3 separate regions of the Homo sapiens genome follow, and all the other regions are linked to region 1. The links are contacts of gene promoters, found by promoter capture Hi-C in blood cells and fetal thymus (Javierre and others, 2016). All regions are on one chromosome and are shown on one strand. Each heading gives the region's core, a stretch centred on a gene start or on the middle of the fragment in contact. The rest is flanking DNA. Distances are from core to core; before and after follow the strand shown. Region 1 holds the start of DHX15 (DEAH-box helicase 15). Region 2 has its middle 14 kb from the start of CCDC149. Region 3 has its middle 58 kb from the start of LGI2.

The links. Contacts are between HindIII fragments. The CHiCAGO score rates a contact against its expected background, and 5 or more counts as called.
Region 2: a fragment that was not itself captured here is called in contact with the fragment with the promoter of DHX15 in region 1 in 3 of 17 cell types (monocytes, M1 macrophages and M2 macrophages); the score reaches 5.7 in monocytes.
Region 3: a contact is called between a fragment that was not itself captured here and the fragment with the promoter of DHX15 in region 1, in 4 of 17 cell types (monocytes, M2 macrophages, M0 macrophages and 1 more). The highest score is 10.2, in monocytes.

What each region holds. Positions count from the first base shown.
Region 1 is chr4:24,582,404-24,586,739 of GRCh38, reverse strand. DHX15 (DEAH-box helicase 15) reads left to right here and starts at 2,186. Exons shown (of 14, transcript NM_001358.3): 1 at 2,186-2,417. The coding sequence starts at 2,347. RefSeq lists an enhancer at 1,748-2,287 and silencers at 2,468-2,587, 2,598-2,677, 2,878-2,927. The HindIII fragment of the contact is 7,218 bases long and covers 1-4,336 here.
Region 2 is chr4:24,924,595-24,928,933 of GRCh38, reverse strand. It overlaps a transcript of CCDC149 not described here. Among named protein-coding and RNA genes, the nearest start is that of CCDC149, 14 kb to the right of the region's middle. The HindIII fragment of the contact is 988 bases long and covers 2,218-3,205 here.
Region 3 is chr4:24,971,128-24,975,589 of GRCh38, reverse strand. It overlaps a transcript of CCDC149 not described here and a transcript of LOC102723675 not described here. Among named protein-coding and RNA genes, the nearest start is that of LGI2, 58 kb to the left of the region's middle. The HindIII fragment of the contact is 1,250 bases long and covers 1,356-2,605 here.

The DNA of each region.
Region 1 (4,336 bases), core at 937-3,436:
ATGCAACCATCCATTTTTAAAGAAAAATATATTTTTGATTTGCAGTTGATTGAATCCAGGGATAAGGAACCCACAGATAATAGAAGGCCAACTCATCATTTTAATTTCAGTTTTTTCCTATACATATGTAATTATGATAAAGTGTAACTTATAAATTAGGCACAGTAAGATATTAACAACTAATAATAAAACATTTATAACAACATACAGACAGTCTTGACTTACAATTGTTTGACCAGATTTTTTGACTTCACGATGGGTTTATCGGTATATTAACTGCATGTTCAACTTACAACATTTTCAGTTTACGATGGCTTTGCGATGGCCATCACCCCATCATAAGTCAAGGAGAATCTATACTGTAATAGAAGCTATGTGAATGTGGTCTTTCTCTCAGAATATCTTACTGTACTGTGAAAGCAAAACCAGGGACAAAGTAGGGACTATGGTACATTTAGGATAGAAAGTTGTACTGAATATTTCACAAGTGAAAAATATACTCATTTTTCTTTGTGTTGACTTTCCAATGTGGATTTGGTACAAAAAAATAAAAACCCTCCTTACCAATTGCTGGCTGGGTGCAGTGGCTCACGCCTGTAATCCCAGCACTTTGGGAGGCCGAGGTGGGCAGATCACTTGAGGTCCGGAGTTCAAGACCAGCCTGGCCAGCATGGCGACACCTCGTCTCTACGTCTCTACTAAAAATACCAAAATTAGCCGGGCGCGTAGCCGGGCGTGGTGGCGGGCGCTTATAATCCCAGCTAGGAGGGAGGCTGAGGCAGGAGAATGGCTTAAACCCGGGAGGCGGAGGTTGCAGTGAGCTGAGATTGCACCACTGTCCTCCAGCCTGGGCGACAGAGCAAGACTGTCTCAAAACAAACACACAAACCCCTCATCAGTTGCAATATTTAAGTTGCATTTAATCCTAGCAATTGCAGTCCTGAGATTTGGATAAGAACCAGAGTATGGTCTTCCAGGGCAGCCAAACCAAGCCATTCCATGAACAACAGAGATCACCCTGCTGCAGATGGTCCACAGATCTTTTCTTGTGCATTTCTTCTGGGAACAAATGCAACTGAGGAAGCAGACATATTCTAGGGGGAGAGATCCACAAAAATCCTTAGAGTCATCTTGCCCCACCTCCTTGTTATGGCTTTAGGTACAGCCCTTATGGCTAGGAGATGTAACCTTCCTCAGCCTTTGCGTCTACGTCTACAAAATAACAACTACCTTGCAGGGTGTTATTTAACACTGCGAAAGTGCATTAATAGGCACAGAAAAACAAAAAACAAAAAAGCAAATTGTGCCCTCACTGCGAATTCTCTGTATTCTAGTTAAAAACATCTATAGCTTGGGTGCATGGTGTCCGTGCTGGGCAAGAAAAGGGCAAAATAGATCATGACAAGCCTTAACATTTTCTCACTTCAGTTTCCTCACTGCAATTGATTTTTTTTTTTCTTTCAAGTCGGAGTCTTGTTCTGTCGTCCAGGCTGGAGTGCACTGGTGTGATCTCGTCTCACCGCAACCTCCGCCTCCCAGGTTCAAGCGATTCTCCTGCCTCAGCCTACCGAGTAGCTGGGATTACAGGCGTACGCCACCACGCCCAGCTAATTTTTGTATTTTTAGTAGAGACGGGGTTTCACCGTGTTGGCCAGGCTGGTCTCGAACTCCTGACCTCGTGATCCACCCGCCTCGGTCTCCCAAAGCGTTGGGATTACAGGCGTGAACCATCGCGCGGCCCCTCACTGCAACTGAGGGTAGCGCAGTGGCCGCAAGTTCCAGATCTGGAGTTACTAAATAGCTGGGTTCCAATCCCGGCTCTGCCACTTATTAGCTGTACGATCTTCATTCGTTTCTCAACCTCTCTGGGTCTGAGATTCCCTTAAAGCCGGGGTAATAGAAATGAATAGGATTTCCTAACTAGGACTAGACTTTCTCAATTTCTTGACTCAGAGGGGCAAGGATAGCCTGAAATGGAAAGTGAAGGCCTTCAGGTTCTTCCTAACAGCCGCTCCGAGGAGGGGAAAGCTACAGGAAGAGGGAGGAGACCCAAGAAAGGTCGGACCAATGAGGCAGCGGGCGGGACAGGAGTTCCCGCCTTTGGGCGTCGTGCGCGCGCACCTCGCTCACACGCACACTCGCACGCACGCACGCTGCGGAAGCGCGCGCGCGCGCAGGCCCAGCCCTCGTCGCCGCCGCCATTTTAGCTGTTGGTTCCGGCCGCACCGTGTGGGCTGTAGTAGCGGGAGGGGTGGGGGTCCTCCAGAGTTAAGTGGCTGTCCTCGACTGTGCCCATACAGCAGCCAGCTTTCTTCCTTAATAACTGCCCGTTCGAAGAGTGCGAGGATGTCCAAGCGGCACCGGTTGGACCTAGGGGAGGATTACCCCTCTGGCAAGAAGCGTGCGGGGACCGATGGGTAAGCCAGGCCGGGGGCGCGAGGCGGCAGCTCGGGCTTTGTTGGGGTCCTGGCAGGGAGCGGGCCGGGGCTGGCCTGGCCGAGCGGGTCCTGGAGCCCGAGCCTTTGTTTCTCTCTGGGCTGGGTTCACTAGCGGCGGGTAGGAGAAGCGCGGCGCCCGTTCGGCCCGGCAAGGGCGCGGGGGGTTGCGTGCGACGGGGCCGCTGCCCAGCCCAGTCCGGAGGGTGGAGAGGCCTGCAGTAGCCATGAGGGCGCCTCCTCCCCCAGGCCGAACCGAGCGGGAGTCATTTGCGAGGGCGTCGGGCGGGAGTGAACCGCGGACCTCGTGGCCTCGGTTCCCGAGGAAGGCCTGGAGCCGGAGGAGAGGGTGGGGGAGGGCGCGGTGGGAGTATTCGCTTCCAAGGGCAGCAGGCACTTCCCAGCCAGAGGGGCCGTGGGGAGGGCCTGGGTGGGGGCGCGGCCAGGCACTCCAGACGGGAAAGGCGGAGGGCGGAAAGTGAGAGCAGCGCGTGGATCATAATGTAGGCTGGGATGGGGGTGGCGGGAGTTGAGAGAAGCCAGCAAATAGGGAGTTCTCGGGGGAGGTGGGAGTAGAGGACCTGCCGGGAGAAAGGAAAACGTGGAGTAATATACCTGATGGGCTGGAAGGCTGGTGTTTTGGGGCGACTGAGTTTATAGTTTGGCGGGAGAGAGCGTGCCTTGGTCCATTCAAACACTTCAAAGTAGATACTAGCAAACTTCCGCTCTCTGCCTACGCTCCCGCCATCTCCTGTATTTCCTGCTTTGGTTAAAACTGGTTACTGAACATCGTCCCATGGGGAGGGATTAGAAGGCATTGTTTTTTTTTTTCATCATTTATTTTCTATGCATGTCCCACTTTTCTTCATAAGTAGCTTTTGAAATACAGGGATCATGTTCAAAACGTGTTTTTAGTATTTATGGCGAAACACCGCCCATGTGGAGGTTGAGAGTTGAAATACTTACACAAACTCTTGGTGTTCCAGATTCCTTTCCTTAAAGGTACAGAGGAATTTAGCAGTTAATTTAAGCAATTTCGTGAAAATCATTTCTTGTCCCTTGTGTGTTTTCATTGATGAAGTACAAAGACCTGTTTGGATAATTCAGGCAAAACCCACAAAAGCCCGAGTAGCCAAATACTTTGCATAATTGTATCATTTTATTGTGTACTTGTGATACAGAATCACTGTGTCAAGTCACCTGTATAGCTGTTTTGAATTTTTCAGCTAAAGTTCTTCATTGAAATTGATTTCCAGGGATATGTTTAGTGTCATTGTAGAGTATAAGCCAGGATAGGGTGTACTTTTTGAGGCTTTGCCATATGTTGAATTATTCAATAGAAAGCAAAAGCATGTCACATTTTAATTTTGTGAGTTATTTAGTTTACGATATTAGGCATTGTAAAAAAGACAATGACATTGTAAGACAGACTCTCTTTAGGCTATCACCCTCCCCCACCATTACGCCCCACAAAACGTTAATACCTCTGAGCTGTATGTCACAGACTCAGAGCTGGAAGCAACTTAAAAAAGACTATACGCGGCTCCAATCAAGGAATGAGAAGTGGAGAACAGAGTTAAGGTGGCTTGTGCAAGTTTACAGCAGGATCTGGAACCCTGCCTTTGTCATTTTCACTCAGCAGCACACAGTTCAGTACTGTAGTTAAGAGTCATTACAGCCTATTTTAATGACATTTATAATGCGTTGGTAAAGTAGGGAACACTTAGTTCTTGATTTCTCTAAGGCAAAAATAAATTGCTGTCATCTGGAACTGATGTCTCTCACAGGAGGTCAGATTGGAACAAAATATTCTGGGAGGGAATGAATGAATTCATTTGTATTTGTGCATATGTGCACCATTTAAAATGTTCCCCTTGGGATTAGTGGTCCCACCATATGTA
Region 2 (4,339 bases), core at 1,462-3,961, 340 kb before region 1:
TTTCAGTTGACCATAAATGTCACCTGAAAAGGGGAAGTGTGCTGCCCCGCCTGTCACATGAAGTTCACCCCATTCCTCTTGTTCTTTGCCTTCCTGACCTTCTGGACTCATTTCAGCTTTTGGACACATTAGGGAGTGACAGGAAGACACCTCTGCCCTGTGAAGACCATGACAGCACCTGTGTCAGTTTCCTAGGGTTGCTGTAACAAATTACCATGAACTCAGTGGCTGAAAACAACAGAAATTTATCTTTCACAGTTCTGGAAGAGCATTCCAAGCAGGGGATCCCTGAGGTGGGAAAGGGCCAGGTGAGTGTGATTGGAGCAAAGAAAGCAAGAACAAGAGTAGTAGGAGCTGAGAGGGGATTCTTGGATCACCCAGTCATGGTTAGATTCATATATTGACAATGAGAAGGAGTCAGTGATTTCATGAAGAAAATGAAAAATACTGGTGGTCCATGTTAAGCCTTCGACTTTTATGCATACCATCCATTCTGTTGGAATTCCTAGGCATCCTTCAGGAAAAGCTTGTGCCCACTTTCCCTCACAATGCCCTACCCTCTCCTCCCCTTCGCCATCTTCTCCTTCCTGGGCACCTGCATCATCAACACATAGTATTAATCTTAACCTCTTTTATGCTATCACAGTCCAATGTACGTGTCTCTAGAAAAATACCGAGCATGTTGCTTTGCACACAGTAATCCCTGAATAGTGTTTTCCTTCTTTATCTCTTAAAATCCTTACCACAATTTCAAGAATTTTCACTGCAAATCAAATTTGAACTGAGTTTTTAGGGAAGTCCAAGTTTATATGCAAAGACATAAAGATGTAATAGAATCCTTTCAAAGAACTCTCTTGCTAATGCTCAATCACAGCGAACAATGTATTGCCTGACATTTTCAGATTCCCAGACCAGACATAGAATGTGATAGAGGGAGGAAAAGGGGTGAGCCATTTTATAGAGGTTTTTTTGGTTCTATCCTTCTTCTAGACTCTATTCATGGGGCAAAAGGAAGAAATTCACTTAGATTTCATGGATGTGCACAGGTATAGGTACGCTGAGTTTTTTTTCAAGCCAAGCATATATATATCCCCTGTAAAGATCTAAGGAACTCTTAAAGGACTCCAGGGTGATACAGGAAAGAATGTATGTGTGTGTGTGTGCATGAGTGTAGAGAGAACCAGAGTTGGTGTATGTTGGAGATGGAGGAGGAGGTGGTAGATCAAGTTAATATAAGGAAGTTTAATAGGCATTTGACTGCTTAGCCAAATATACGAGTAGTTCCTAGAAAACTACATCATTATACGGGAAGGGGGTTGTTTGTAAGTGGAATACTTCAGGCTAGGAGAAGGTTTCAGCACCTGCTTTAATCAACGTTACAACTATTTTTATGAAGATTTACATTTACAGAAGTTTGAGTCGTGTTCTTGAGTTCTTTGCTTATAGTTTGGAATTTTTCCATGTTTTTGGATGCAAATAAACGCAGCTGTTTGCTCTGCAAGAGCTATGGAAAACATATATTTATGCTGCATTTGTAATACAGAGAATGTTCAATTGAGACTGAATTTGGCATCTTGCCTTACGTTTCAACTTTTCTTTTTAATAACGTAAGATCTTTCATTCATGCAAATGATGCTATTGACTCATCAGCATGGTATAGTGAAAGAACAGGGGTCTGGCCATAAACACAACTGAGTTTCAGTTCTGCTTCGTCAGTAATGACCTTCCTGGATGTGGGAAATTATATTTTCGAAAGATGGCTGCAAGAACCTCACATCTCATGTACTCCTTTACAATATGACCTTGATATTCTCTCATCAAGAGAAGTCTGTGTTCTCTTCCCTCAAATCCAGACAAGCTTGGGACTTCCTTGTAACCTATGGGATGTAGCAGAAGTGACCATGCCTGACTTCGGAGGCTGGGGGTCTTAAGGGCAATGCCACTTCTGCTTAGTCCACTGCAACATTCACACTAGGAGCCGTGCTGCCTGTAAGGAGTGTGACTGTCCTGAGGCTGCCATGCTGCGAGGAAGCTAAGTGGCATGGAGTGGCCCCGTGTAGGTGCTCCAGTTAACAGTCCTCGTCTTCAAGTTCTCCCAGCCCAGGTGCCAGACATGCGATTGAAGAAACCTTCAGACGATCCACAGTCCCAAGCAGGGAATCACTCCCAACCTTCAAGCGTTTCCAGCTGAGACCCTAAACAGGGCAGAGACAAGCTTTCCCTGTTACGCCATTTCTGAATTCCTGACCGACATAATCTGTGAGAATAATAAAATGGTTATTCTGTGTTACCAAGTTTGGAAGCAATAGGAACAGAATCAGCAGCAATAGAAACAGAAACATTGAAACAGAAATTTGGAAGCTGGAAGTGGGAGGCATTTGTAACAGAAAACAGAAACATGTAGTATTAGCACTGGGACACTCCGCAGTGGGTTCTGGAAGCCCCTGAGGGAAGGTAGGACAAGCTGGAAGGGCCTCAAGGGGAATGTTGATGAGACTTTAAAGGAAACTGAGGAATATGTTATCTGGAAACCCAGGAAAGGGAGGTCCTTGTTATGCAGTGGAAGAAAGTTTAGCAAAACTGTTTCCTGTGATAATGCATAAAATGGAAAGCATATTTATTAAACTTGATTTCAGGCAAAGCATTGAGGGTGCTGACTAACTTCTTTCTGTTCCCTATAACAAAATGGGAGGAATGAGACAAACTCAAGAATGAATTCCTTTTTTTCTTTTTTTTCGAGATGGAGTTTCATTCCTGTTGCCCAGGCTGGAGTGCAAAGGCACCATCTTGGGTCACTGTAATCTCCACCTCCCGGGTTCAAGCGATTCTCCTGCCACAGCCTCCCGAGTAGCTGGGATTACAGGCGCACACCATAATGCCTGGCTAATTTTTTGTATTTTTTTTAGTAGAGACAGGGTTTCACCATGGCCAGGCTGGTCTTGAACTCCTGACCTTAGGTGATCTGCCCGTCTCAGCCTCCCAGAGTGCTGGGATTACAGGTGTGAGCCACCATGCCCGGCCAAGAATGAATTCTTAAGCCTTCAAGCCTAATTGGAAGGATAGATAAGGTCTCAGAATAGTCATCTTAGCCAGGAAAGTGTCCCAAATTAATAAATAGGCTCTGGGAAAATATGAATTCAGAATGGGACTGTAAGATCCCTTGTTTAAGCCTCAGAAATATCTTACATGCTACTTCAGAGAAGCTTCCAGGAACATAAAAGTCCTTCTTTAAGAATCTATAGTGTTTGTCTTGTAGACCTTCTTTGTTAAACAATAAGACTTCAAAGAATCTTGAGGGCACTGTCCCACAACAGTGACACAAAGACCCAAGATAGAGAAGGACCTGACTCAAAGAGATTTGTAAGTGTGATTTTTGTCTATAAAGTTGATTATGCATTGATACAAAGTAAAACAAAATAAAACGAAACAAAACACCGCAAAGTTTTTTTAAAAGGAAGCATGTTAGCTTTGATGGACAGGAACAGAGACAGTACGAGATGAAAAGAATTCTTTTGACCCTACCCCACCCCCAGTCTTTTAAAGGCAAGAACCAGGCTAAAAAGGCTATTCAATTGCATACTGAAGTATTTCTTATGGAAAATGAAGGATAACTCAGAGGGCTGAACCAAGAGCCATGAAGAAAAACTCCCAAAGAGTATGACTGAGTCCTAAGCTGTCCCCACATTTCAGAATTGCTATGGACAAGTGACCACCAATGCCTTTCATTTTCCCTGCTTTTGAACAGGAATGTCTACAGCAGTTATCCAATGCCTGTTCTACTGTGGCATGCTGCTGGCATAAGGGACAGAGAACTAATCTCTTTAGTTCATAGATCTACAGAACAAGAGGAAGATTGACCCAAAAAACTGTACCTAAGGAGCCTCAACTACACTTGGACAAGATGTAGTTGAGATTCTGGACTTATAACTGATGTAGTAACAGGACAAAACTTTGGGTGTCTTCGAAGAAAGGTTATTCATTTTGTATATGAGATGGGTATTGTAGCCAGTGGATGTGGCCACTGTGGTAGATTGCATTTTCCAAAGGTGACTGCAACAATTTCTTCCATCCCACAAGCTTCTTTAAAATGAAACCTTGATACTCATCCATACTCAAGAGGTGGCATCTGGACAAGTTTTTGACTCACTCATAACCAAAAAATAATGTGGTGGAAATGATGTTGAATGACTTCCAAGAATAGATGATGAAAGGCAGTATAGTTTCCACTTTGTTAATTAGAATAGTCATTCTTGCAACTCCATGGCGCCATGAGAAAAATCCACTACCCTGAAGCAGCTGTGCTATGAGGAAGAAACACCACATGGAGAGACCACATGTA
Region 3 (4,462 bases), core at 731-3,230, 390 kb before region 1:
TTCCCTCTCCTCTCTTCCCCTCCCCTCTCCTCTCCTTTCATCTTTTCTCTCCTTCCCTTCCCTATCCTACTTTTCCTTCCTTTCCCTCTCCTGTCCCCTCTCCTCCCCGCTTTCTTCTCTTCCCCTCCCCTCCCTCTCCTGTCCCCCTCCTCCCCCTTCCTTCTCCTTCCCTCCCCTCTTACATTCTCTCCCCTCCCCTCAAGATCCCCTCCTCTTCTCTGCCTTCTCCTCCCCTCCCCTCCCTCTCCTTCCCCCTTCTCCTTTTGTCTTGCCTCCCTTCTTTTCCCTTTCTCTCCTATCTTCTGTTTTGTCTTCCTCCCTTCCCTTCCTGTTTTAGTCTGTTTTGTGCTGCTATAACAGAATAGTTATCATAGAATACCTGAGATTGGGTAATTAATAAAGAACAGAAATTTATTTCTCATAGCTATGGAGGCTGGAAAGTCCAAGATCAAGGTGCTGGCATCTCATGAGGGGCGTCTTGCTGCAACCTCACATGGCATAAGGCAAGAGAGCAAGCTAGTGCAATGCTGCGCAAAGCCTATTTTATAAGACCTTTAATCCCATTAACAAAGAAGGAAACCTCACAGCCTCATCACCTCTTACAGGCACCACCTCTTCCTACTATCACATTGGCATCATCTGAATTTTGGAGGGGACACATTCAAACTATAGCATTTCCCTTCCCTCCCCTTCCTTCCCCCAACCCCCTTTCAACCCCTCTTTCACTCCCTCTCCTGGTTCTATTCTCTTCTGCTCACCTTTTTCCCAGTCTCTCCAGAAAAAGCACCAGGATGGGGTGGCTGAAATGGAGATCTTCAGAATCAGGGAGACCCTGAGTCCCACAGAATTGGATCATCCGAGGCCATGCAGTTGAGTGGGAAGATGTGATTCAGCAGACATTGATTGAGCACTTACTGAATGCAGACTGGTGTGGGGGGTGTAGAGATGAATAGGACATGTCTTCCCTTTAAGAAGCTCAAAGACTAGTGAGAAGGAAAAAAGAAAGCCATATTGGTTGAGAAATTCTTATGTGCTAGGGAATTACATTATGAAATCCTCATGACAGAGTCACCCAGAAAGATGCAGAAAGGTCCGGTGATTTCTGGGTGCTGCAGCAGAGCTGGGAGTTGACATCAGGGCTTCTTGGCTGCAAGGTGGTTACTCTGTCCTCTAGAGCCACACATTTGCCACTTGAAAAACGACATCTCCTGGAATTGCTGAAAAAGCAAAGAAGTATGGGTTTCCTCTGCAGAATTCAGGGATTTCACCCCTCTAGGGTTCTGACTCAGGGCGGGGGCAAATTCACGTGGGAGTGCGGGATGCGGAACTGATGCCTCCCGAGTCTCTCCTAAGCTTGTGAGTCTCAAACCACAGATGGCTGATTGGTGGGGAAAGCAGCCGGCACCTGCGGGTCACCTTCCGCCCTGGGGAGCAAACTGTCAAAAGGAGCTGTGCCCGAGGCTGACCTAGTTAGACAGTGGGCCGCACACAGGCGCTCTCCTTTGCAGGATTTGTTCCAGGCGTTTGTTTATTTGCGCACCACTTTATTTGCCACTAAAAATACTCTTCCGAAGCAGAGGCGCAACTGACCGTGACTCTTGCGAAACAGCCGAGTGCACAAGCACTGAAGGGCTCCCTCTCGGGCTTCCCGGGCTCGGGGACTGCAAGGGGAACAGAGCAAGGCCTACTTGCCTTAAGGCAGGCAGCTCTGTTCACTTCCATAACCCCAAACCCAATCCCTCCATGAGGCACTTGCTGGTTAAGAAGCAGCTCTCAGCCTGCCTGGTGGACTGTGGATAACGTTGCACAGAACTCCTCAGTTGTAACCAACAAAACTCAGTTCAGACCGGGTTAATCATACACTCACACACACGTATTGTCTCAATGAGCAAAAATTCCAGAGACTGCTGTAGGCACAGCTGGATCCAGTACCGATGGATGGCTGGAATCTGGTCTAACTCTGGCCTTTTTCAGTTCTTTTTATCCTCTGGGTTGGCCTCACTCTCAAGCATGTTTTCTCCTCACAATGTCAAGATAGCTGCCAGTAGCCTCAGGCATGCTTAATCACAGCTCCAAGTGCAAACAAAAGGGGACTTCTTTTTCTCCAGACTTTTTTTAAATGCACTTTATTGAGGTACAGTTGATATACAGTAAACTCCATATACTTAAAGTGTACAATTGGATAAGTTTTGACATATGTGTACACCCATGGGACCACCACCATGTCGACACAAAGAGTCAGACTCCATAAAATTTTTAAACAGGTTTATTCTGAGCCAAATATGAGTGACTAAGGCCTGAGGCACAGTCCCAAGAGGTGCTGAGAATATGTGCCCAAGGTGGTTGGGTTACAGCTTGGTTTTTATATGTGTTAGGGAGACATAAGACTTCAGTCAATACATGTGAGGTATATATTGGTTTGGTCTGAAAAGGTGGGACAACTTGAAGGGGAGGGTTACAGGTCATAGGGGGATTCCAAGATCTTCTGATTGGCAATTGATTAAAAGAATTAAGTTATTATCTAAAGACCTGGAATCAATAGAAGAGTGTCTAGGTCAAGATGAGGGGTTGTGGAAACCAAGGTTCTTGTTACATAGATGAAGCTTCATGGGTGCCCACCCTTACAGGCAAAAGATGGTGAATGTTTCCTGCTCAAACCCTTAAAAAGTGCTAGACCCTCAGTTAGTCCCTTCAGGATTGGGAGGGTCTGGAAGGGGAAATATCTAGTTAACAGAGATTCGTTACAGATGCAATTCCACCACAAAAACAAAGTTGCAGGCTATTTCAAAGTGTGACAAATAAACATACTTTGGGGTAAAATGTTTTGATTTCCTTCTTTATCTGTCATGTGATGTTATGCCAGGGTCAGATTGGAAAGTCAGTCAGTTAGACAGGTTTAAATAAAATGTCTCTGATGAGATTTTACAGTTTGTAGTGTGTGACTCCCCAGGCCTCTTAGGAATTTGGGCAAGAGAGGAAAAAAGGCTGGGCGTGGTGGCTCGTGTCTGTAATTCTAGCATTTGGGAGGCCGAGGGGAGCGGCTTGCTTTAGCTCAGGGGTTTGAGACTAGACTGGGCAACACGGAAAAACCCCATCTCTACAAAAAATGCAAAAATTATCTGGGCGTGGTAGTGCGTGCCTGTAGTCCCAGCTACTTGGGAGGCTGAGGTGGGAGGATGGCTTGAGCAAGGGAGGTTGAGGCTGCAGTGAGCTGAGATGGCACCACTGCACTCCAGCCTGGGTGACAGAGAGCCTTGTCTCAAAAAAGAAAAGAAAAGAAAAGAAAAGAAAAGAAAAGAAAAAGGTCAGAATTTAGTCCTCAACCACAATCAACACAGCAAACAAGTTCATGATAGCCAGGGTTTTCCTGTGTCCCTTTGTCATCCTTCCCTCTGTCTGTGAAAATAGTCAAACTCTGTGGAATGTTTGAAGAGATTTATTCTGAGTGAAAATGAGTGACCAGTCCTCCATAGATTCTGAGAATGTGCCCAAGGTGGTTGGGCCACAACTTGGTTTTATATATTTTAGGGAGACATAAGGGACCGATTGATATGTGTAAGATGTACCTTGGTTGGTTCTGGAAAGGTGGGACAACTGGAAGTGAGAGCTTCCAAGTCATGAAGATTTAAAGATTTTTTGATCAGCAACTGGTTGACTTATTTTCAATAGAAAGAAATGTCTGGATTATGATAAGGGGTTGTGGAGACCAAGGTTTTATTATGCAGATGAAGCCTCTAGGTAGTATGTTTCAAAGATAATAGATTGTAAATGTTTCTTATCAGACTTAAAGAGTCTGTTCTATCAGTAGTTCTAAAAGAGAGGATGGTATAATGAGGCATATCTGGCCCCCTCTTCCCATCATGGGCTGAACTAGTTTGTTTTTCAGGTTAACTTTAGAATGTCCTTGCCAAGAGGAAGGGAGTTGGTGGGTGAGTGGCAGATAGCTGGGAAAACATTCGAGGAATCATAGACAGCTTCTACATGGCTGTACTCTCTCCCTGGGCAGGAGCGAGCCGAACGTACAGCATTAGCAGGGTAATTATACCTTTTGCAGACAATAGTGGCTCCAAGCCAAGCACAAGCTCATGTGGGTGACCACCTAACGTGCCTCATGTGGCAAGGTTGCATAATGTGCAGGGTTGTGCACCTGCACTCCTAACCTGCTGAATCATGCTGCACTGGAAGCCTGCCTTGGCTTACTCCTGACTAAAGTGCAGTCATCTCCCTCATACTCCACCTCCCAGGCCGAGGGCGTCCCCCGGGCAAGGACACAAGCCCATAGGGCAGAGCCCTGAATTCATAACCCACAACAACAACACAGAGAGCAACAACTCACTACTAGGATCCCAGCTATGCTACTTATGACTATTAGGACCCAGCATAGGCCAGAGCCTAGAGATGCCCACCAACTCTGTAGGGGGTCGTCAGTAAGGGTCTTGACCACCTTAATCTCCCATGAGAC